Linked DNA regions of Homo sapiens: regions 2, 3, 4, 5, 6 and 7 are each linked to region 1. Evidence: promoter capture Hi-C in 16 types of primary human blood cells and fetal thymus (Javierre and others, 2016). All regions are on one chromosome and are shown on one strand. The core of a region is centred on a gene start or on the middle of the fragment in contact, and the rest is flanking DNA. Distances in the headings are between cores, read along the strand shown. Region 1 holds the start of DCUN1D2 (defective in cullin neddylation 1 domain containing 2). Region 2 overlaps CHAMP1 (chromosome alignment maintaining phosphoprotein 1). Region 3 holds the start of UPF3A (UPF3A regulator of nonsense mediated mRNA decay). Region 4 overlaps CDC16 (cell division cycle 16). Region 5 overlaps RASA3 (RAS p21 protein activator 3). Region 6 overlaps RASA3 (RAS p21 protein activator 3). Region 7 holds the start of MCF2L (MCF.2 cell line derived transforming sequence like).

Evidence for each region. The method cuts DNA at HindIII sites, captures the fragments that hold promoters and counts their contacts. A CHiCAGO score of 5 or more calls a contact.
Region 2: a contact is called between a fragment that was not itself captured here and the fragment with the promoter of DCUN1D2 in region 1, in 2 of 17 cell types (M2 macrophages and neutrophils). The highest score is 5.3, in M2 macrophages.
Region 3: a contact is called between the fragment with the promoter of UPF3A here and the fragment with the promoter of DCUN1D2 in region 1, in 1 of 17 cell types (neutrophils). The highest score is 5.5, in neutrophils.
Region 4: a contact is called between a fragment that was not itself captured here and the fragment with the promoter of DCUN1D2 in region 1, in 5 of 17 cell types (neutrophils, monocytes, erythroblasts and 2 more). The highest score is 9.0, in neutrophils.
Region 5: a contact is called between a fragment that was not itself captured here and the fragment with the promoter of DCUN1D2 in region 1, in 2 of 17 cell types (neutrophils and erythroblasts). The highest score is 5.1, in neutrophils.
Region 6: a fragment that was not itself captured here is called in contact with the fragment with the promoter of DCUN1D2 in region 1 in 1 of 17 cell types (neutrophils); the score reaches 6.2 in neutrophils.
Region 7: a fragment that was not itself captured here is called in contact with the fragment with the promoter of DCUN1D2 in region 1 in 2 of 17 cell types (non-activated CD4 T cells and naive CD8 T cells); the score reaches 6.3 in non-activated CD4 T cells.

The regions. Positions count from the first base shown.
Region 1 is chr13:113,488,983-113,492,281 of GRCh38, reverse strand. DCUN1D2 (defective in cullin neddylation 1 domain containing 2) reads left to right here and starts at 1,571. Exons shown (of 7, transcript NM_001014283.2): 1 at 1,571-1,615. The coding sequence starts at 1,613. It overlaps SLC9D1 (solute carrier family 9 member D1), which reads right to left and starts at 1,261. Exons shown (of 13, transcript NM_017905.6): 1 at 1,009-1,261. RefSeq lists a silencer at 951-1,870 and an enhancer at 2,101-2,400. The HindIII fragment of the contact is 2,425 bases long and covers 275-2,699 here.
Region 2 is chr13:114,323,802-114,327,100 of GRCh38, reverse strand. It overlaps CHAMP1 (chromosome alignment maintaining phosphoprotein 1), which reads right to left. Exons shown (of 3, transcript NM_032436.4): 3 at 1-3,299. The coding sequence starts at 3,258. The coding sequence ends at 820. Among named protein-coding and RNA genes, the nearest start is that of LINC01054, 8.5 kb to the left of the region's middle. The HindIII fragment of the contact is 721 bases long and covers 1,190-1,910 here.
Region 3 is chr13:114,279,880-114,283,178 of GRCh38, reverse strand. It overlaps UPF3A (UPF3A regulator of nonsense mediated mRNA decay), which reads right to left and starts at 1,578. Exons shown (of 10, transcript NM_023011.4): 1 at 1,333-1,578; 2 at 1,052-1,158; 3 at 236-342. The coding sequence starts at 1,539. It overlaps LOC105370384 (a long non-coding RNA gene), which reads left to right and starts at 2,110. Exons shown (of 4, transcript XR_007063887.1): 1 at 2,110-3,076. RefSeq lists silencers at 561-770, 1,151-1,330, 1,561-1,830 and enhancers at 910-1,597, 2,051-2,350. The HindIII fragment of the contact is 7,060 bases long and covers 1-2,417 here.
Region 4 is chr13:114,237,139-114,240,437 of GRCh38, reverse strand. CDC16 (cell division cycle 16) reads right to left here. Exons shown (of 18, transcript NM_001078645.3): 4 at 1,410-1,448; 5 at 948-1,088. Among named protein-coding and RNA genes, the nearest start is that of CDC16, 3.9 kb to the right of the region's middle. The HindIII fragment of the contact is 5,477 bases long and covers 1-3,299 here.
Region 5 is chr13:114,122,603-114,125,901 of GRCh38, reverse strand. The region is part of intron 1 of RASA3 (RAS p21 protein activator 3); the gene reads left to right. LOC107987192 (a long non-coding RNA gene) reads left to right here. Exons shown (of 2, transcript XR_001750050.2): 2 at 1-615. Among named protein-coding and RNA genes, the nearest start is that of RASA3, 8.4 kb to the left of the region's middle. The HindIII fragment of the contact is 282 bases long and covers 1,398-1,679 here.
Region 6 is chr13:114,054,202-114,057,500 of GRCh38, reverse strand. All of the region lies in intron 2 of RASA3 (RAS p21 protein activator 3), which reads left to right. Among named protein-coding and RNA genes, the nearest start is that of RASA3-IT1, 54 kb to the left of the region's middle. The HindIII fragment of the contact is 473 bases long and covers 1,593-2,065 here.
Region 7 is chr13:112,968,022-112,971,320 of GRCh38, reverse strand. It overlaps MCF2L (MCF.2 cell line derived transforming sequence like), which reads right to left and starts at 2,107. Exons shown (of 30, transcript NM_001112732.3): 1 at 1,863-2,107. The coding sequence starts at 1,941. MCF2L-AS1 (MCF2L antisense RNA 1) reads left to right here and starts at 2,683. Exons shown (of 1, transcript NR_034002.1): 1 at 2,683-3,299. RefSeq lists a silencer at 2,172-2,231 and an enhancer at 2,433-2,952. The HindIII fragment of the contact is 521 bases long and covers 1,305-1,825 here.

The DNA.
Region 1 (3,299 bases), core at 322-2,821:
TGCCACTGCTGTATTACGACACAATTATCTGTATTCCCAGCGCTCTGGGAGGCTGAGGTGGGCGAACTGCTTGAGGTCAGGAGTTGGAGATCATCCTGGGCAACACAGCAAGACCCTGTCTCTATTAAAAATGAAATAATTAGCCGGGCGTGATGCTCCCTGTGGCCCCAGCTCCTGGGGAGGCTGAGGCGGGAGAATCGCTTGAGCCTTGACCAGCCACTGCACTCCAGCCTGGGCGACAGCAAAACTCTGTCTCAACAACCACAAAAAAGCTTTAGAATATTTAAGTCAAGCCTGTAGGAGAAAAAAACTACAAATATTTCACAAGTAATCCAATCATTAAGACACTCCTTTTGAAAAAGCCGGTAAATAAGATAAATTTGGAAGACAGAATAATCAGAAAAACAGGCAGTGAATAGGGACCCGATACGCAGCGGTCTTGCTTCCCCCGCGCAGGCGTCCACACCCTGGGTCATGGACACCGTGAGGAGCCGTTAGGAGTCACAGGAGGGGGGCCAGGGACAGGGCTGCATCTCTGCGGCCGGCCCTGGAGGCCCCGAGTCCACCCGGGCGGCCAGGGTGGGAACGCAGGTTCCATTCCAGGTTAGAACGTGGGCCTCAGCGAAGAGCGCCTAGGCAAGGCCTGGAGGAGCGGGACCCCAGGCCACACAGACCACCCGACCCCGGGAGACAATACCTGCAAGAAAAGGGGAGCCCCGAGGAGAGAGAGAGGGGAGGTGAGCCCCAGGGAGGGAGAGAGAGGAGGGGAGCCCCAGGGAGGGAGGGAAGGAAGGAAGGGGACCCCTGGGAAGGGAAGAAGGGAATGGGAGCCCCGGGGAGGGAGAGAGGGGAGCCCCAGGGAGGGAGGGAAGGAAGGAAGGGGACCCTTGGGAAGGGAAGAAGGGAAGGTGAGCCCCGGGGAGGGAGAGAGGGGAGGGGAGCCCCAGGGAGGGAGGGAAGGAAGGGGACCCCGGGAAAGAGCCCCGGATGGACGGGCCTGGTGCTCACCGGGACGCAGGGATCCGCGCCCGCCCGTCCGGCCCGAGCATCACCGTTCCGCGGCCTGGGCCGGGCTCTGAGGCGCCAGGACCCGAGGGGCGGAGGGGGACGCTGTCTCCCGCCTCGGAGCGCAGCGCCGGAGGGCTTCCTTGCATCCCTTCCCAGGCGGGACCAGGGAGGCCGGGAGGCCGGGAGTCCGGGAGGGAGCGGCCGCCGCCCTGCCCAGCACCGCCCCCGCTCAGCCAAGCCGACCCGGACTCCCGCCCAGCCGCAGTCACTGCCCCCTTTAAGAGGCGGGGCGTGGGCGGGTCCCGTCGGCCGCGGGCGGCGAGCACTTCCTGGCCGGCGTGGGGCCTGGCAGCCGCAGGCTGGCGTTGGACCCCGCAGGGGCGAGCCAAGGCCCTCGCAGAGGGCTGGACGCGCAGGGGCTGTGGGGCGCGAGCTCCCGTGGGCCCCCGGGCGGCGCTGAGCATGCCGGGAGTGGGAGTCCCCGCGGCCGGCTCCCGGCACTGCCCCGGAGCCGAGGGCCGCGGCCGTCCGAGGACGAGGGCGGAGCCGCCGCCGCGCCTGCGCAGAAGGCCGGGGCCGGCCAGAAGCGGGCGGCGCGGGGGAGATGGTAGGTGGCCCGGCGTCGCCTCTGCCCGTCGGGGTCGGGGTCGGGGTCGGGCCCCAAGGTCGGCGCAGGCGGCGCGCTGGATGTGGGAGGCCGAGCCCAGCGAGCTGCGCGGGGCGTTCCGCGTGGATCCGAGGGAGGAACGCGCCGCGGGCCCGCGAGCCGGAGCGGTGGCGTCGGAGGCGCGGGACCGCGGGGAGCGCGGGTTTGACCCGGAGCCGCGAGGGACGACCGGGAGTGAGCGGAGGGCGGGGGCCGGGAGGAACTGTAGGGGCCTTGGGGCAGGGGCCGGGGCCGAGCGGGAACCCAGGCCGGGGGCTTCCCAGGGCGGCTTCGAAACGGGCAGTCGAGGCGGGCGAGGGCTCGGCTGCTCCTGCGGGCGTCTGTGCAGATGCTGAGGCTGTTGACCAAAACAGCGCAAGGAAGGAATCCGCGAGAAGCTCAGATTCGCGGGGGAGGCCCTGCTGCCGGGAGGGGAGGGAGAGGCACAGCGGGGCCCTAGCGCGGGCTCTAGCCGGGAGCTGTAGCGTGGCTGTAGGTGTGCATCTGTGGAGCTGGTAGAGTTCCGCAGCGCAGGAGGGAGGCTGCTGGAGGTGCACATCAGTTACTTTGAAATGTGGTGGAAATGGTGATGGATGGGATTTATTCAGTCCACATCGGTTCAGAGGCCAGCAAGGTGCTGCTGGGTGTGACTGGTGCTGGGCCAGGCATGATCTTGGCGTTGAGGGAGTTGATGCCCCAGCAGGGGAGACAGGCACCAGATGCACAATTGTTTGACCACAGTTGGGACAAAGGCTAAGGCACGGGTTCCAGGAACTTGTAGGATGCGGCTGTGGGAGTGGTGTCAGATGCTGAGGGTGTGAGTTGAACTGTGGAGAATTTCTCTGGAAATTAGCCAGAGAAAAAGTGAGGTTCCGGGGCAGCCAGCCGTGTGCGGCTCCAGGCAGAAGAAACAGAATGCACAGACCCTTAGTGGTAGGCGATGATGACGTATAGGAGCTGAAAGATTGTCCTGGCTAAGGCACAGAGAGCCACCGGAGAAGGGACACGGTAACGTGTAGAGGGGAGTGGAGGGTGAGGACAAGCTTCAGGATGGGAGAAGAGCCACAAAGGAGACTGAGAGGGGGCTGGTAGGAGAAACCAGGACACTAGAATGTGTCGAAACCAAGAGGATGGAGTTTAAAGGAGGAGGGAGCCATCAGCAGTGCTGAACAAAAGAGCAGCTGAAAAGATCCCACTGACCGCAGCAGCCGAGCTTTTGTGACCTTTAGGGGTCACTGCGGAGGCCGGGCTGGAGCCAGGTAGCCTGAGTTAGGATGCACACCTGGGCAGGTAGAGATAGCTTGCTCCAGCTTTTAGGAGGACAGGGGCAGAGTGGACAGGAACTTAGTTTGGGGAAAACTTGAACATGTTCAGGATGCTGGAGAGGAGCGTTCCACTGCTGCCGAGGTTGGAGATCCAAGAGCAGGGATGAATTTAACTCCCCCTCCCTCTAGCGTGCTGTATACCGAAACAGAGTGAAAGTGATCCATAAACTTACGTAGTTTATTCGATCAACATGATTGGCCCGCCAGCCCCGGGTAAGTTGACCCTAAGGACATTTTAAGAGTAATTTCTTTCCATTTTACATATGGGTATCCTTGGTGCCAGATTATATGAGTCGTATTTCACAAGGTCACAATTAAAG
Region 2 (3,299 bases), core at 301-2,800, 830 kb before region 1:
ATGTAAGGCCCAGGAGTAGGATATACAAACTCTAACACATTTGGCAATTAAGAATCATCTATTAGTGTGAGCTGGCAGGCGGTGGGTGGGGGGTGGGGATGGGGAGGGAAGAACCAGATCTTAGGGTAAGATACAGAATGGAAGACTCCACTGAAAACAACTATGGACAAGAAAGATCTAAAATCACACTTATCTTTCACTTGTCTCCTGTGGGAGAAGGCTGCAAACTATTTTAAAGACTTAGTCAATTTTTCCCATTAGCAGAAAATCAGCAACCCTGAGACTCCAACATTTCATGACATAAAAGCTAATAAACATCTAGAAGCTGATTAAGATTTATAAACTAATTTTACATCAGATAGAAAATAACTCTTATGATTTAAAAATACATGTAAGGAAACAAAATTTCTCAAATTTATTTTTCATGCCTAATTCTTAAACATTTCAACTAATATTTTCTATTGTCTGAAATTAGTTCCACACACAGATACACTTTAACTGAATGCTTTGAGTACAACTTGCTCTTGATTATTAAATGGAATGCCTACTTCCTTGTATTATTATTCATACATATTTAAAAGAAATGAGAAGTTTAATCCATCTGGACTATACAGAAATTTATTGACTTACAAGATAGTCACATAGACAGAGACCAGAAAAAAATGATCAAATGCTCATTCTTAGTAACACAACTGAGACAGTGAAACACGGTACACCATACATGTCATCTACTGATCCAACTATGCTATCTGATAAGCTATACTTACAAAGAATGGTTCCAACAAACACCTTTGTAGAACAAATATTCACACTGTGTTATCAAATTTGCTGCTCCTCCAGTGGCGGTTCAAGAGCTTCCATTAGCTTTTTATTTGCCTCTTCATTATGCCGGCTTTGACAATGAGTTAAATGTTTCTTAAAACCTCTTGGGAAATTTGATTCAAAATTACAACGTGGACATTTAAGTAAACTTTGCCCATGGGCTGCTACATGATTTTTAAGGAGAGATTCCAAAAGAAAAGCCTTTCCACAGATTGTGCATTTGTAAGGGCTATGAACATTATGCTTATTAACCAAATGATGCAAAACAGCACCTTTTTTCATAGCACGACAGCAACAAATTTTGCAATAATACTTTCCTTTTCCACGCTTCATGTATTTTGCAATCTCCTCTTCAGAGATAAAAGCTTCTTTTTCTTCAGTAAACTGTAGCACATTTCTAGACTGCTCTGGACTAGTCATGTCCATTTTGTTCTCTTTGCTAAAATCAATGGATTCCACATCAACCTGCTCTTGATCACTGCTTGATTCCTGGCCCTTAATATCCATCGCATCCAAATCTGTTTTTATGTACTCACTACTACTAAGCTCAGCGTCTGAGCTCTCTTGGTTGTCTTTCTTGAGCTTCTTTGAGGAAGGAAATAAAGTATCTTCTAAGAGTTTCTTAGGTGAAGCTAGAAGTTCTTCCTGAACCAAAATATCACATTTTTGATCATCTATGGCATCTATTTGTAGTTCATCACCAAGCTCAACAGCCTTCTGTGATTCTGAGAATAGAGCAGATTTGGGGAGTTCAGGGAAAAGGGCATGCTTCCGGGGCTCTGGAAAAAGGGCACGTTTGCGTGCTTCTGGAGAAGCAGGAGGGGCTGTTTTGGCAGGCTCGGGAAACAGGGCAGGTTTTCTAGGCTCAGTATCGATAGAGAGAACAGGCTTCCAGATATCTGAGGCTGCTTTGGGGGACTCAGATGGCCCAGAAGGACCTGGTTTTCGGGTCTCAGGGAAGACAGGTTTCTGAGGCTCAATAAAAAAGGAAGACTTCCAGAGATCAGGAGAACCACCACGGGAACTTTTCTGGGACTCAGGGAAATCAAGTGAAGCAGGAGAAGTTTTCCGCTGATCAGGAGAAAGCTTCCAAAGATCTGGTGACCCTGAGGGTTTTCTGAGCTCTGGAGATCCTGCTGGACTACGGATCTCTGGGGATAGTGGTGGGCCGGGTTTGCGAAGCTCTGGAGACACTGGGGGAACTGCCTTCCAATGTTCAGGAGACAACGTGGGAGCTGTCTTTCGGAGTTCTGGTGGGCCAGACTTCCATGACTCAGGAGATGCAGGGGGAGACTTCCAGGAGCTGGGTGAGACTGATGAAGATTTCCAGGATGCAGAAGACACAGATGGAGTTGGTTTCCAAGGTCCAGGAGATACAGAAGGAATTGGTTTCCAAGGTCCAGGAGACACAGATGGAGCAGGTTTAGCTGGCTTCCAAGGTCCTGATGATGCTGAAGGATTGGATTTCCAAGGCCTAGGGGACCCAGGTGGCCCTGGTTTCCAAGAGCCTGGTGACACAGCGGGGGCTGGTCTCCTAGGCTCTGGGGAGACAGCAGGGAACGGCTTCCAAGGTTCAGGAGACTCTGAAGGGGATGGCTTCCTTGGCTCAGGGGAGGTAGTCCGGGCTGACTTCCGAGATTCTGGAGATGCAGCTGGGGATGGTCCCCAAGGTTCTGGGGAAGCAGCTAGAACTGGTGACTCTGGAGATGAGGCTGAAGGTGGCCCCAATGTTTCCGGGAAATGAGACTGCTTCTGGGGTTTGGGATTACTAAGAGTAGCCTTTACTGACTCAGGAGATACAGGGGCAGGTTTCTGTGGTTCTGGAGAAGGAACAGGGGCAAGTTTCTGAGACTCACAAACAGGGACTGATTTTGGAGGTTCAGGAGAAGAAACAGAGGCAGGTTTTGAAGGCTCAGGAGAAGGAAGAGGTGTCTGTAGCTCAGGAGAAACAACAGAGCCAGGTTTCTGAGGCTCCAGGGGAGTAAGAGGAGTAGGTTTTGGCGATTCTGGAGACAAAACTGAACCAAGTTTCTGTGTTTCCATTGAAAGGGCAGGTATGGATTTTGGTTCTGCTGAATTGCAGGGTATTTTCTGGTGTTCAGGAAGAGGAGGGCTTTTCACAGGATCTGTTTCTTTGTTCAACTGATTTTTTGGTTTATCATTCCATTTGTCTGGGGATGCATGTTTGGATGTGATGTGATAGTATACATTAGAGTACATCTTGCTGGTGAAGAAGCATTTATGGCAGTGAAATAACTTTGCACTTTTCTGGTAAAATATCATTTTGCCTAGCCCACCAGCATCCATTTCATCACAAAATTCTGGATGGATGGTACCCATATGGATTTGTACATTTTCATAGTCTGTGCCTCTGAAACTGCAATGGTCACACTCCAAACGTGCTGATGGTTTACGAAGTTCCTGGAATGCTTCCATTCTTCTGTCTGTTACCAACACACACGGTTATATTCTTTAAA
Region 3 (3,299 bases), core at 329-2,828, 790 kb before region 1:
CCGATCATGGTGGCACACGCCTGTGGTCCCTGCTACCTAGGAGGCTGGAGGATTGCTTGAGCCGCAGTGTGAGGCTGCAGTGAGCCGTGATTGCGGCTGCTGCACTCCAGCCTGGGCAACAGAGCAAGACCCTGTCTCAAAAAATAATAATAATTTAAAAAGCACGAATATTCTAGCAATACTTCATTAGTATACCTACAGATTATAATAGATTTTTAAAAACCAATAATCCAACCTTTGCTGTCAAGGAAGATATATCCATCAAAACGATCTCTAAAAAGAAGGATGTCATCAGGATTCCTAAAATTAATGTATGCTCTTGAGTAGAGATGAGGATAAAGACTGAAATAAGAGATAACAGTGAAAATGGTCAGTGAAAAATACAATAGTCCATTAATTTAGCCTCTTTTTCCTTTTCTGGGCACAACAAACTACTTTAGATAAAACTTTTGTGCCAAATCATCTCAGTTAATTGTAACAACTTGGATATTCTTTAGCAAAAACAAACGCAAAACGTTAACTTTACAAGGCAGAACTCAGGTCCCTTCTCCACTGCCCAGAACCGGTCCTCCGAGGCTGAAACCCTAAGGCAAGGCCAGGGCGCACTCCCAGAGGAACCCGTGGCGCCGAGAGACTCTCCTGACTTGGGGACCTTCTCCGGTATTTAAAACCGCACTGGCTGCGGCACCAGCGTGGAGGCCACAGGAAGAGCCGGCGCCCCCCGGCCCCGCAGCGCCCCGTCCGCGGACGAGCAGGGAAGCCCGGGAGGCGCCGGGCGGGCAACGCTGGTCCTTTCAAAGGCACCCGCTTTCCTAAGCGTTAGCCGTCTGAAAATCATCCGCATTTTTCATGTAAACCACATCTGTGTTTCTTTGTTGGTGGTATTTTTCTTTGACGGAACGGACACGTTTTACTGAAATGTATTTATTCAAAAAGCTCACACGACTCCCATATAGGAGAAATCAGGGTAAGGAACGTAAGGCAACGAGACGGCCACCGCCGCCGAGCTCTGGGTTCCGCCCTCTCTTCCTCCCCTCGGGGCGGGCCTCACCTCAGGTCGGCGGCGAAGAACTCGAAGTAGTCGTGTGCTGGCAGCGGGCGCAGCTGCTCCTCCAGCTGCTCCTTGGTGAGGCCCGGAGGCAGGCGGCGGATGACCACCTGCGGGGAGCGCGCGGCCGTTCCCACCGGGGCGGAGCGTGGACAAGGAGCTCAAAAGGCACCGCGTACCGCGCTGGGAGGCCCGGCCCCCGCCCCTCCCTCCCCTCCCTCCCCTCCCTCCACTCAGGGCCGTCCTCTCCTCGCGAGGTTTGCGCGCCCCGCCCCCGTCCCCACCTTGCTCAGGGCCGTCCTCTTCTCCTCGCGAGGTTTGCCCGCACCGCCCCCGCAACCGGAGGACGAAGTTGGCGGCGTCTCAGCCTCCTGCTGCTGCGAGTCGCGGTGGAACTGCACTTCTAGGGCCGACAGCTTCTCCCTCCCGCTCGGGCCCCGCGCGGCAACGGCCGCCCGAAGGCCTCCGGCCCCCTCCTTTTCCGAGCGCATGCCGCACTCTCCGCCGAGCCGCAGCCGCCAGCCCCCGACGAAACCTCGCGAGAGCTCGGCCGCCCCAGCCCCGCCCCTCCTCGAGCCGCGGCGGTCGGGGCCGCCCACGAAGGGGTCAGGCGCTGCGGGACTAGTCGGGGTCGGGGTGGTGACCTCCGGCCACACAGCCTGGCTTTCCGCCGGGTCAGGCGGCCCCTCAGGGAGCGGCGGCCGCGGTTTAGGGCGGCCCCGGAAGCGGGGCGCCGGCGGCTTTGGTCCGGGCGTGGTGGGAGGAGTTCGCGGACAAGCCGCCCTCCCATCCCAGCACCGTTTTTATCCCACTCCCCCAGGCTCTCCGTGGCCGGGGCGCCATGAAAGCCGGGTTCACATTTGAATTCTTAATTTTTTTGGAGACAGTCTCGCTCTGTCGCCCAGACCGGAGTGCAGTGGCGCGATCTCGGCTCACTGCAGCCTCTGCCTCAGCCTCCTGAGTGGCTGGGACCTACAGGCACGCGCCACCACCCCTGGCTAATTTTTTTGTTTTTTTAAAGTAGAGACGGGGTTTCACCTTGTTGGCCAGGATGGTCTCGGTAACTCCTGACCTCAAGTGATCCGCCCACCTCGGCCTCCCAAAGTGCTGGGATTACAGGCATGAGCCACCGCTCCGGGCCCTTGCACATATTTTTTTATGAACACACAGGCAGCAGCACTTTGATTACAGTAACTTACATGGAAGTTATTTTAAAATGGCTTTCCCCTTCTCTTTTTCATGTAGGCTGCATTTTTCATCTGCAGCACGCTTTCTCTCAAGAATCTCAAGCACACACAAGAAACCAGAGAGTAAAATCACTGAGGCGTGAACACATCCAGAGACCAAGGGCGTCACTGGCAGAAAAGCTTTTAGGCGGATCCACGGCCCGAGAGCCACCCTGCCCAGAGACGCGGTTTCCTAGGAGCAGTTCACACGCGGCTCTGCAGCACCCACAAGCGGGGCCAGGGGCTGGTTTTCATAGTTCACAGTCTGCAGGGATCTTAACAAAAACATGGCCGTGGTAAAAGTGCCTAGACCAGGCTTTCGTCACAACTCAGTGAGTAGGAAGACTAGTTAGGCTGATGAAAAGCTCTGATGATGTGTGATTAAAAGTAGGAAAACGTGGTTGCCAAATAAAATATTTTACTATATAGTCAGGGGGAGAGATGGGGATAAAAAAATGTGGAAACCATTTATTTTAAAATTTTGACTGTTCCTGCAGTGTTTAAAATATAGGAGATATATTCTGATTATCTTTAGAAAGAAACTGCTCTCAATCTATTTGTATGTCTTCCCTCTGGTTTTAAAATATTAAACAATCATCTAACTCAATATTTAATTTTACCTCTAGTCATGTTACTAGGTTAGGATAATAAAAAGGACTGTGAACTTCACATCTGCCATCTATAATAGATTCTTATTGTAGCAATCTTGCACCAAGGGGATTTCTTTATTAACTCTGCCAAATTTTCCAAAATTACCAAATGGAGAAAAGAGCTGGTCCCATCTGTCACCAGGCACAACCAGGTCAGTAACTTAGGGTATTTCTTGTGTTCATGTTTTGCCCTCACCACTGCAAAGCCCTGTTCTCGGCCTGGTGCCTCTGCACACCTCTGAAGCCAGGTTGGCCTCAGCCAATGTGAGGGACCCTTCATTTGACCTTCCCCAGAACCTTGAGTATTTCCACTTCTCCCTTCACTGCACTGTACCCTAAAGGGACTCACATGTTTGCTGGATGTGTATATTTCGT
Region 4 (3,299 bases), core at 289-2,788, 750 kb before region 1:
GGAGATCGAGACCATCCTGGCTAACATGGTGAAACCCCGTCTCTACTAAAATAGCAAAAAATTAGCCGGGCATGGTGGCGGGCGCCTGTAGTCCCAGCTACTCGGGAGGCTGAGGTGGGAGAATCACTTGAGCTTGGGAGGTTGAGGCTGCAGTGAGCTGTGATTGTGCCACTGCACTCCAGCCTGGACAACAAAGCAAAGACCCTGTCTTAATTTAAAAAAAAAAGATGTGGGAAGAAAGAGAAATTGGTAGGTCAGGTAAGGCTTACAGGGATTCTTTCTGAATAATAAAAATATTCTAAAATTGACCATGGTGAGGTTTGCAAAGCTCTGTGAATACACTAAAAGGAATCAAACCATACAGTTTAAATGGGGGAACTGCATGGCATATAAATTATACCTCAATAAGTTTTTATTTTTTTTTTTAAATCCAGATTAGTGATCTGTAAATGTCACTTAATAAGTTACTATATGATGTCTGCCAGCAAGGAATGTGCAATTTCATGGAGATATGAAGTATACAAACTGAAATATACACAATTACATAGCAATGTACTTTGAAGCAAACAGAACACAAAACCATTTCCTGGAAAGAAACAATGTACGCTAATCAAAGTTTCTTGGTGTAGGTCCAAAACACTGCTGAAACACAGAAAGGAGAAGAAAAATTATTCCACTTTTAGGGAGTAGCTTAAGGCATCAAATATGAGAAGGAAGTTTCAAGCCAGCCTATTTTGGATGCAGGCATCTGCGGATACAATTACAGCTTGCAACTAAGGGCTCAGAAATGTCTCAGAATCTTTTTTGGTTTTGGTGGGCAAATTAAATAAATTGGCAACCACAATTGTTTTAATATAGTAATAAGTAAAAGAAGATAATGTGTTTCTGCCACGTAATGAGGGCAATTCTCGCCGCCGTTACTGAGCTGTGCTCACAGTACTACTTACTGAAGACTGTGACATTTCCCAGTCGCTGGAAGGATCTTTGAAGCCACTTTCGTCCTTCAAGTATTTTTCAAATAATCTTTTATTGATGGGCTCTTCCATGTCAAGAACATCAAGGGCCTGCTGGTGCTCTTTTGCAGCATACTACGTGGAAAACAGAAGTGCCGCTCATCACTCACGACTTCTAACACGAAACACATGATCCGAATTTTTAAAGGATAACATATACTATGCCCATTATTTAAATGTGAAATGTCTAAAGTAGAATTTTCTTCATGCATGTCAGCATGTGGTAAACGAAGAATCAGTATTTTATAGCAAACATGACTAAGGAAAGGAACACTTCCTCATGAAATACTTTACTAACCTGCTAAGCTCCATCACTAAAATTCTCACACATATTTAAGAGATGCATAACACTCATTTTATTCAACCAAATAAAAATGAAATTATGAGCATACTTACATGGCACCTAGCTGCAAGGTAACGACATGCTTCATACAACTAGGAAAGAAATTAATTTGTTTAAGTAGTGGTCAAAATAATATGTATCTTCACTTTCAAAGAAAGCCATAAGCATAAAATAGAACTAATTTCATAATTTCTCCTTTTACTCTTGCAGTTAAAAAAAAAATCCAGTCCTGTTAAACCATATTTATTATGAACCTACTGTTTACTAGGCACCAAGGATTCAAAAGCAGTAAGGCCCTGCCCCAGGAGGTTACAGTAGGGGAGATGTGAACTAAGCACAACAGGTAAGCATGACGAAACGGGGCAACAGAAAGCATCAACCAGGTGGAGAAGTAAACATCTGCAGGAGAGCGAGTAAGTGAGGCAGCGAGTAAGTGGTCAGGCAGAGGAGTGGAGCACTGGGTAGCTCTTCAAGCACTGAGTGTGAATAACTGCTGGGGGTCCAAGGAGATCGCAGCAGCTCCACTTCAGGCACTGAGTGTGAATAACTGCTGGGCGTCCGAGGAGATCGCAGCAGCTCCACTTCAGGCCCTGAGTGTGAATAACTGCTGGGCGTCCGAGGAGCTCGCAGCAGCTCCACTTCAGGCCCTGAGTGTGAATAACTGCTGGGCGTCCGAGGAGCTCGCAGCAGCTCCACTTCAGGCACTGAGTGTGAATAACTGCTGGGCATCCGAGGAGATCGCAGCAGCTCCACTTCAGGCCCTGAGTGTGAATAACTGCTGGGCGTCCGAGGAGCTCACAGCAGCTCCACTTCAGGCACTGAGTGTGAATAACTGCTGGGCGTCCGAGGAGATCGCAGCAGCTCCACTTCAGGCCCTCAGTGTGAATAACTGCTGGGCGTCCGAGGAGCTCACAGCAGCTCCACTTCAGGCACTGAGTGTGAATAACTGCTGGGCGTCCAAGGAGATCGCAGCAGCTCCACTTCAGGCCCTGAGTGTGAATAACTGCTGGGTGTCCAAGGAGCTCACAGCAGCACCACGTGACTGGAGCACGTGCTCCAGGTATTGATGGTGGTGGATTAGACGCAGAGTGGAGAGAAAACAAGGAGGGCCTCACAGACCTACTGATGCATCTGACTTTATCCTGCAGCTAATGGGAAGTCACTGAATGACTTTGTGGGAATATAACCACATCCGTGTTTTAAAGACTACTCACTCCTGTAATAGTTCACAAGATGAACTTGTGACAGGGAAGATAAGAAGAGAGAAACTGTTACTGGGGAAAAGAGACAAGAAGAGAGGCTGTAACAGAACAGACAAAAAAATCAAAGGCCTGACACGTACGAGTGGGGAGGAAGAGGAATATCCATGATTCCAGAGCTGTTTAGAAAACAGTCTTCAGAATTTAGAGACTAGATGGGAGATGGGGGAAAAAGAAGGTGACAGATTAGGTATAAGACATTTTCCCTTCACTTTCACTAAAAAAAAACTGGGCCTACTGTGATGACTCACATCTATAATCCCAGCACTTTGGGAGACCAAGGCGGGAGGACTGCTTGAGACCAGGAGTTCAAGACTAGCCTGGGCAACATAGTGAGGCTCTGTCTCTACCAAAAAAATTTAAAAATTAGCTGGGTGTGGTGGCATGCACCTGTAGTCCCAGCTATTAGGGAGGCTGAGGCAGAAGGATCACTTGAACTCAGGAGTCTGAGGTTATAGTGAGCCACGATCATCCCACTGCACTCCTGGGTGACACAGAGAGACCTCAAAAAAACAAAAACAAAGAAAAATTGCATCAAGTTAAATAATTTCAACAGAAATGGAATATACACCTAAAACCCTAATGACTTTTTTTTTTTTTGAGACAGAGTCTTGCTCTGTTGTCCAGGCTGGAGTGCAATGCACGAACTCAGCTCACTGCAACCTCCACCTCCCAGGTTCAAGT
Region 5 (3,299 bases), core at 289-2,788, 630 kb before region 1:
CAGGTGCCGGTACCTCTGGAGGGTGCGAGGTTGGACAGCCGTTGTGGAACTGTGGTGGGGGTCGGGGAGGCAGCTCACTGAGCGCGTCTCGTCTTACGCAGCCGCGGGTCAGAGCAGGGGTCTGTGTTCACGCAGGAAAGGAGGGGCTTGCCGTGCAACCAGAGCTTCTAGCTTTGAACCATAGGTGAAGGCGATGAACAGACGTGTCTACTGCAGCAGCACCTGTGGCCAGTGGCTGAGTGAGCAAATAGCAAACAGTAGAAGCAATGTTGAGGAGTTGGGGTCTCCCCACCAATCTCCTGTCGAACTGTCACCCCGTCGTTGGAAGTGGGGCCTGGTGGGAAGCGACTGGATCTTGAGGGTGGATTTATATGAACAGCTCAGCGCTATCCCCTTGGTGCTGTTCTCACGATAGTGAGTGAGTTCTCGTGAGATCCGGTGGCACACCTCCCACCTCGCGCTCTTGCCCCCGCTCTCGCCGTGTGAGACACCTGCTCCCCCTTCACCTTCTGCCATGACTGGAAGCTTCCCGAGGCCTCCCCAGAAGCAGATGCCTCCATACTTCCTGTACGGCTTGCAGCACCGTGACCAATAAACCTCGTTTATTTTGAATTACCCAGTCTCAGGTGTTTCTTTATAGCAATGCAAGAACAGCCCAATGAGTAATCGCCAACTGAAACGGTGATTATGTCATGTGCATCCACATGTGGGCTGCTCTGTGGCTTTCAAGGAACATATTAAGCCCAGGCCAAACCACATGACTCGCAGGAAGTTCCACGGCATAAGATTCAAAAGAAGCAAAATGAGAGCGCCCAACACCACCCCCTAGAAGAATGATAAACACAGATCAGATGAGTGTGCGCAGATCAGGGATAAGACCCACACAGCCTGCTAATTGGATTACCTGTGGGATGGCAGGAGTGCTGTGGTAGGAAGAGAGACAGGAATACAAGGCCTTCCGTAGCAGCAAGTATATGTCTATTATGCATCAATGTGCAACTATGTATACGGTGGGTGAGTGAGTGAAGAACAAAGGCGGAGCTTAGAAATCATCCCTTCACAGATTGCAAGAACAGTGTCGGCTGTGGAGGACGCCAAGGCCGAGAAAGAAAATAACTTGCCTTCATTCAAGACAATGTGCTGTGTGGGAAATGCATGTGGACAGGTGAAGGAGCGGCTCCGTCAGGCCGCAGCGGGCGTCCAGCAGTGACAGGCGGAGTGAGTTGTGGCTGGCCCCTGAGAGGCCCCTGACAGGTTTTGGGGCTCCAGCCTTTGTGTCTGGGAGGCTCTGGCACAGGTGAAGGGGAACTGAGGGTTACGTCACCTGTGACAGATGGTTCAGGGTCTCTCTGGGTGTGACGCAGAGTCCAAAGTGAACAGTTACAAACGTTCAAGCTTTGCTGTAGATATGAGTTTCAGAGTCACCGAGGTGCCCGGGAACGCCCTCGTCGGGCCTGGATCCCCGGAAGTGAGTTTCCCCATGGGTTATTGGTCAAACGGCATCAGAGTGTCTGGGAGATTTTGTTTTTCTGTGAGTATTTTCTCAAAAATAGTAGTTCCTTGTTCTATGAGTGTCTGAAAATATTAGGTGTGTTTCTGCAGACAGGGCTGGATTCCTGGGGCTGTAGCTCTAGCCACCCTGAAATTTGGCATTCTTAGTTTTCGTTTTCAAATAAGCTTGAATCCCACATTTGGAACAATCACCCAAATTTAAGTCTCAGTTTTGTTCCTTCTGGGGACAGTCAGTGCCCTGCTGGTATCACAACACAGCCAGTAACGGCTGCAGCGCTGACCTGCGTGTCCTGGGTCCCGAGAGACACCGTGCCGGGCTTCTGGGGGCTGGGCCGGGGGGCTGGGTCAGGAGACAGGAGCCGCACTGGGGACCGAAACCGGTGCCTTGACCTGGAATTGATCGAGGAACGACTCCTGCACCTGTTCTTTCCTCTTTACATTGTTTCTTTTATGTTATCCGAATAATTTCCAACCTGTAAAGAATCATCTGTCTTGGCCCTGACTGCCCATAGGATAAAATTCCAGAGGTTGGTAAGAGGTCTGAGTCTTTCCTAGACACCGTGGGGATCCTTTTTCTGACCACCGACCAGACAGATGTCCACTTAGGACCTGCATGGGGGCCGTGGCTCCCAGCCCCGCATGGCCCACCCCGTGGGTGCCTCCCTCGCCCCAGGATGGGCCAGAGTCCTCAGCCCCTTGCTGAGAGCCACCCTCCCTGCCTGGTGCGCATGGCGTGCCCAGGGTAGGACGGAGGATTCTCTGGGATGCCTGACAAAGCCTAAGGGTGATTGTTGTTGTGTCTTCCTGGAGCTTGGTTTTTGGACGTCATCGTCTCCAAGCTGCAGCCCGGGTCTGAACTGGGCGCGATAGACCCAGGCTGGCTGTTCGTGTGGCGTTGGAGCCAGTTCCCATTTCTGCGTTAGGTTTCATTCCTGGCCTTTTCCCTGCTTTGAGGGGCTGCACAGAGTACCTGAGGGCCCTTGCGTGCACCCCTAAATCTTCTCTTTAGCTGTGTTCCTTCTGAAGGAAAAGGTTTCACTCTTCTTTTCAGCTCTGGAGATTTCTTGTTTTGGTTCCAAACCCTCGAGGTGCTGGAGCAGCTAGTTTGCCTTGATCTTGTCACTTCTGTGTTTTCTCTTCCCCAGAGCAGCCATTGCTCTGGGAGCCTGAGGACCAGCCTCAGCCCATGGCCCCTGCTGGGGCGGCCACCTCGGCGTCCGGTGGTGACTGTGCAGGACACATGTTTCCGGCCCCCCTCCTCTGAGGCTCCAGGAGCAAAGTGCTGTCCCCAAAGCCATGCCGGCAGCAGGAGCGTCTCCATGCCGGGCACGCACCGAAGGTGTGTCCAGGGTGTAGGGACCCAGGAAGGTTGTCTTGTGGTGGACTCTGATGACCACAGCCCAGGCGCTTTTGTGGCTCGTGGAATCGCTTCCTCAGAAAGGAGGCTGGGTGCTGCCGCGGCCTTTTCCTTCCTAGAGCCCTTTCTCATGCAGCGTTGGCTGGGCCTGCTCAGCACTGTGGCAGCTGTCATGGCAGCCAGTGGTCCTTGCTTTGGGCAGCAGTGAGATGCACAGGCCTGGAGTCAGGGCTGGGGCCGACCTGCCGGAGACCCCCTTCCTAGCTGCGTCCCTCACTCGGGGCCGACCGGCCGGAGACCCCCTTCCTAGCTGCGTCCCCCTGTGTGGAGGCCCCACTGGTTCTCCTGAATGCTGTGCCCTCTGCTTCCATGTCAGAACATTTCCCTCCAATGGGCAGGGGCGAACCCACCTGCACCCCCGGGCCCAGGT
Region 6 (3,299 bases), core at 580-3,079, 560 kb before region 1:
TGAACGAACCCTCTATTCTGGCACAGAGACTGGCTCCAGCTTTCCTTGAAATCCTGCAGAGCCTTCATTAAAATGAGTGCAAGGCCTGTAGCACGGCCGCCTCTCCGGACCCCACTGCCCTGCAATGCCTTCTGCTCGTCCAGCTCGTGGGAATGAAGCTTGGTCACAGTGGTTGGTGGCTCAGAGCTCCGTTGATAAGGCTGGCCGGCCGCCTGCAGATGTCCTGCCTGGTTTCCTGAAAGACTTGAGGTGACCCGCAGGAAACAAAGTTAGTAATAACTTTATTACTTTAAGTTTAAAAAGTTATATGAAATAAGAAGAAAAACATTAAAATAGGCAATTGGAACCACTAGAATAAACGACATCAGACATGCAAAACACTCACCCATCGCCTGTGCTGGAGCCTGTTCTGGCTCCAGGGTTCTCAGCTGCAAATGTGTAAAATGGAACTGTGAGTGTGACGTTCCCCTTCTTCAGGAGGGGGGACCCGTGGTTCCCAAGGACAACAGCTCCTCTTAGCAGGGGGGGCAGCCTGACAGAGGGCCCCAAAGCGCTGCCTCCCCTGCTGCGATTCAGGAGCAAGGTTCTAAAGCCATTGCTGGAGAAATTCCTGGGTGGAGGCTGGAGGAGGTCTTGCTCCCCAGGGGTAGTGCAGCAGGGCCATGCTGTGTTGCTATAAACCGCTTTTACATTTAGAAAGGGGCACGTCCAGTCTGTGGTGATAATTTTATGGAGTTCGTATGTTTTCTTGTAGCTTCCTCTTTCTGCTATTTTTATCTCTTTTTATTGAATGGATTTCTGGTTTATTTATGAATTTTAAGCACCTCAATTTCCACGGACAGCTGTCAGCACCACCAGAAGCCTCACGGGACCCTCCCAGGTGCCCAGCCAGCACGGGCCTCCCCCCACCGAGCCCCCCACTGCCAAGCAGAGTTACAGAGAGAGGAGCCACTTGTGCAGAGCCTTTGGCAGAGCAACTGAACACCCCGCTACCGGGCAGCGCCCAGGGACGCCGCACTCTCAGCCCTGCTGCCCAAGCCCTGGGGTTAGTTTCGTTTCATCAGATGTTGGAGTGCCTCGGTTTCCCACCCTGTGCATCAGGGTGGTGAGGAAGTGTGCAGGGTTAAATGCCAGGTGCGCGGCGCCCGTTTGTGGGGTGTGCTTAGCGCTGGCATCCTCATCTCACCGCCCCTCACCACGCACCGGACACGCACCAAATATGCATCAGACACACATCAGACACACACCAGACACTCACCACTCACCAGACACGCATTGGACACGCACTGGACATTCATCGGACACACATCAGACATGCAATCCAGCCCGACCCACTTCCTCCTCCCTGCCTTCCTGCCAGGCAGGCACAGGCCCATGTGGTGGGGTCCTCAGTGCCTGTGCGGGGGCGGGGGGCTCTCGGGAAACGGTGACGCGCCAGGTGAACCCCGAGGCCTGGGTTGCTCTGAAGCTGCTGCAGCTTCCTGACAAGCCGGCTGCTGGAGTTTGTGCCAATGGAGGGCGTCCGTTCCATTCTCTGGCAGCTTGGCTATCGGTGCCGGTGGTTCTGAGGTTCCTCCATGGTGAACGAAGCTTGATTTACGCCTTTTGGTTACGCATTTGCCGCAAGGCCCAGAGCTGTGCGTGCTCCCGCTGGGCTTCTTGTGTGAGATGCACCGCAGCCAGGACAGCCTGGGCACCTGCCACTCTGGAGCAGGAAGTGAAGCCTCCAGCCCTTGGTTCTTGGGGCTCTGCCGGGAGCGAACGGGGCTGGAAACGCCAAGTCCAGGCTGCTTTCACACATTCAAACACCACGGCTTCCTGCCATCACTTAGGCCTCAGTGGCCCTGAAAGTTGCTCTAGGACGTACAGAAGAGGCCGTTTTGTCGTTGTAAAAATCCCAAATGTTTTGTGGATTACTATTAATTGTTAACGCTTGTCCTGTGAGTAGCTCGTCACCTGAGGCCTTGTCGTGAATATTAAAATGCACGTCTGGTGTCCCTTTTGGCTTCGAGGTTGATAGTGGTTTTTCCTGCCAGTGGGGACGCTGTCCGCAGAGCACCAAGCTTCTCCAGGGAGGCCACAGGGCGCTGCCTGGGGAGTGTGCGTCCTGCCCCGAGATCCTGCAGCTGTGACTTTACACAGGGTGGAGGCAGGGTCACGACCCCTGCGCCTTGTTATGAAAGCAGCGCATTGTGTGGGGCGCATCTGTGGTGCCTTTGTGTACATGTGCACCCAAGTGCTCCAGGGCACATGCATGCACGCATGAACATGCACACATGCCTGTGAGCACACATGTATGGGCACATGCATGGCACATGCATGCACACACCCATGCACACGTGCCTGTGGGCACACACATGCACATGAACATGCACACCTGCCTGTGGGGACACACATACGGGCACACACATGCACACACAAACACGTGCCTGTGGGCACACACGTACAGGCACATGCATGCACACACCCACACACATGCCTGTGGGCACACGCACCCATGGGCACACACGTGCACACACCCATGGGCACACACGTGCACACACCCACACACACATGCCTGTGGGCACACACACCCCTGGGGGTCCCTGACATCAGATCTCGGCGGTGCCCACGCAGACGCAGGAGATCAGAGGATGGCTCGCTGCGTCAACGACCAACGCGAGAATGTGTTTAAAGGAAACGTGACTTTCTAATGGGCCTTCATTAACCAGGATGCTGCTACAATGGAGTCGGTGGAAGTCCCTGAGCATTCTGCCTTCATTGAAAGATAAAGTGATGTTTCTTTTGTGTGTAAATGGATACTGCTGTGTTTCCAAAATGCTTAAAACAACCTAGGCATTTTAGGCTTCCCTTGGAAGATTGTTTTATGACAAAAAATGGTTTTCTGAGTAAATGTTACCCAGTCTCTGACCCAGTTATAAAAATACTGAAATCAGTGAAATCCAAATGAAATGCCTGTCATTAAGGCCGCTGCAGGGAGAAGGGGTGGGGCCTGGACTCTGGACCCCTCCCACCTGGACTCTGGGCCCCTCCCACCTGGACTCTGGGCCCCTCCCACCTGGGCTCCGGGCAGCAACAGTCGCCCGCCCCAGGTTTGGGCTTATGCCTGTGCCGTATCTCCTGGTTTAATTTGCATTTTCTCAAGGGCTAATGACATGGAGCATTTTTAATACATTGTTGGCCATTTGTCTTTGGTGATATGTGTGTTCAAATCTTTTGCCCCTTTTTAAACTGAATTATTTGTCATCATTTATTGAGTCATAAGAGTTCTTTATATATTCTGTATATAAGTCTTTTAT
Region 7 (3,299 bases), core at 316-2,815, 520 kb after region 1:
GAGTGTTTGGCTGCAGGTGGGGAACTCTCCTGAGGAAGTGCTTGGAATTTAAACCCGAGGTGGGGATCAGGTTTACCTTGACCTTCACCCCTACCAGAGAATGTGCACCACATACCCGTACACTCTGTGGTAGCATCATGTCAATACTGCATCATAAACCCCCTCATGATGGTTTTACAGCCTTCAACCTAATAACTTGCCTCCGCTGAGCAGTACCTCACACAGCGTGAGCAGAAAATGGGTTTGTGCTGAAGGAAGAGGCCAGTGTTAATGGGTGGTAAGTGGAGTATGATGCAGGGTCACCTCCCCTAACTAAACGCTACAGGGTGCTCATAACCGAGGATATCTGGTAAGCTGGACTTGAAAGTCCTGGTGAAGCATGCAATTATCGGTAATGCAGATGTGTGGGAGGACGCACATCTCACTGCCTGTTCCAGATGAGACGATGGCCCACACCGAGCGCCCGGCTCGCACGACATTCAGTGAGCAGACAGTGTCACTGCTGCTCTTCTGAGATAGCCTTTTTCCAATTAAAAATGCGCACATGTCTCTTGGAGCTCATGAAGAAACCCCAATCCCTAAAAACCTGGGGAATGACATCAGCCTCTGGAGCGGTTCCCACTCTGTGACTCTGACACCGAACGGCACGCAGAGGCATGCAGAGCAAGGGGGGCTTTCTCCTCCACCCCCACAGCCGATCGGAAGCCTCCCTGTGAACCTGGCATCCACGCAGCCCTTCACCATACTCAAACCCTGCAAACCCTGCACGGAAAAGCTCCACTCAAGCTTCAGAAAAAGAGCTGATTCTCTAAGAATCAGGGAGCAGACGGCATGAAAATGGTTTTGTTTTCTTTCGACCCACATACAATAAACCCAGCAGCTTTGATCATAAAAGCCCCCATTAAAAACATCTTGATTAGACCATCCCATACGATGGTGCTTATGCTGATTTAATCACTGGTTCACTCTCAGAATCCATCGGGGTGGGCAGAGAAAGAGAACCACACCCAAACCAAGCAACTGACATTTTAATCTCCCAGGCAAGTACTAGTTAGACAACTAGTAATGGCATATATGACATAACATATGGCAACATCAGGCAAAACACTTGGCAACTTACTTTTAATGATATATCATTATTTCCTCTTCATTTCAAGGAAAACGAGTTAAGGATGCCTCTCCCTTCTGCATAACACAGCCTGAGAACTCAGATGCGACCGCCTGAAAGCCACGGCCAGATGCAAGCTGTCAGCCCAGTCTCTGCTTACACCTAAAAGAATCGATCTGAACTACTCTTCAAAGCTTATTTGAAGTAATATTTCGATTAATACTGAAAATGAACGTCCAGTCCACTCTTTACCCATACCGTCTCAAACATCTGTCTTAGGTTTAAATTGCATTTAATGAAGAAAAGAACCACCTGATTAGTCCAGGTTTTTTCATCCTCAAAACGAGCTTCCAGGTAGCTTCACCATCCCTACCCCTGGCTCTGAAACCCCAAGCTCTGAAAGCCCTTGGCTCAGATCATTCTCCATTCGCAATGCATTCTCCATTGCGAGGGCTGCGGACAGGCAGGTTGATGGGCAGACTTCAGACACACAAATGGCTCCGCATGCAGACCCAGCAACCCTGAGAGAGCCAGTGTCACCAACGTGCAGTCATTTTGACTATCCCGGGCAGCATACGATCGCCGACAGCCTCTGAAAACACACCAGCTGCCAACCAGTGCCCCCCATGTCACAGCTACCACGGCTAGAAAGGAACACGAGGGCGGCTTACAAAAATCAGACGCATTTCCCCACATTTCAGCCCATGATGTCAAGCTTAAGCACAGATCACTGACGGCCAGCAGCTCCTCCTACCCGTGTGCTTGGAAACCGCATTTAATCTCTGCACCATTTCTTCCAAGGCCATCTCTTCAGTCCTCAGCCAAAACCTCATCCTCCGACACAACAAAAATGATCCTGGCAGATCCGCTTCCTCCGCACGGGGGGCGCCTGCGGGTGGGGCCGTGCGAGTGCGGAGGGGGCGCGGCGGAGGCGGGGAGGGGGCCACGGCAGCGCTTTCAGCCTCCAGCCGCCGCCTCCCTGCCCAGGATTGGTTCCGCGCCACCGGGAGGGGGGCGCGCGCTGCGCCGCGGGGGGCGGGGGGCGGCTCGGCGGAAGCGGAAGCGGCGCGCGCCCGCCCCGGTGTGTCACCACCGCGGGTCACCTGGGAGTCCTGTGAGTGCACCGCCGGGGTCACCTGGGAGCCCCGCGTGTCACCGCCGCGGTCGTCGGGGAGCCCCGGGGCTCACCAACGAGGTCACCTGGGAGCCCCGCGGGTCACCGCCGCGGTCACCTGGAAGTGTCACCTGTGTCACTAGGTCACCTAGTGTATCACACAGGTCACCTAGAAATTCGTGTCACCGCCAAGGTCACCTAGAAATTCGTGTCACCGCCGAGGTCCCCTGGGAGCCCCGCGGGTGCCGCACAAGTGCCCCCGCCCTTCCCCCCGGTTCCGGGTCTCCACGCCCTCCTGGTTTGCGGGCAGCCGCGAAGCCGCGAGTGGACCGAGCGAGTGCAGCTGCCTCCGCGGGGCCGCGCCTGGCCGCCGCCTCCCTTTACCTCCGGCCGCCCCGTGGCAGGTGTAGAAGCTGCAGAGGCCGCAGCAGCCCAGCGCGCCCCTTCCGTGTGGCCGCATGCCACCCGCGCCGCGCCCAGGTAAGCAGGTCCGTGGGTCGCTGGGTCCATGCGTGGGTCCGTGGCTGGCCGGGGATGGACCAGCCCCTCCCCGCAGGGGCATCGCCTGCCCAAGGACGCAGGACCCAGTGAGGGAAGCGCGCGCTGCAGGCACGGGGCTCTCCACCCTCGCCATGGTTGGCACCAAGCCACACTGTGCACTCGACACACGCAGCGTCCTGGCTGCCACCTGCAGATTCCAGCTCGTGTCTATGCAGGGCCATGGCCGCCATCACAGGGCCATATGCAAGAAACTCTCTGAGCTCTCCTCGCCCAAAACCGCAGCTATCCTTTTGTGGTTTGGTATTATAGGTAACATGCCCTTCCTTAAAGAAACAGTATTTCAGGCCTGTAGTCCCAGCTACTCCGGAGGCCGAGGCAGAAGCTGAGGCAGAAGCAGGAGGATCATTTGAGCCCAGAAGTTTGAGCCTGGGCAATGTAGCAAGACCCCCCCCCCCACCTCACTCCCCAATCAGTTAAAAGAGAGAGAGAGAGAGAGAGAATTCCAGCAGGAAGAAGTACACATTTCCACGAATGGTTTGGGAATTCAAGCATCATATGGCTGAGGTTTGAACTACA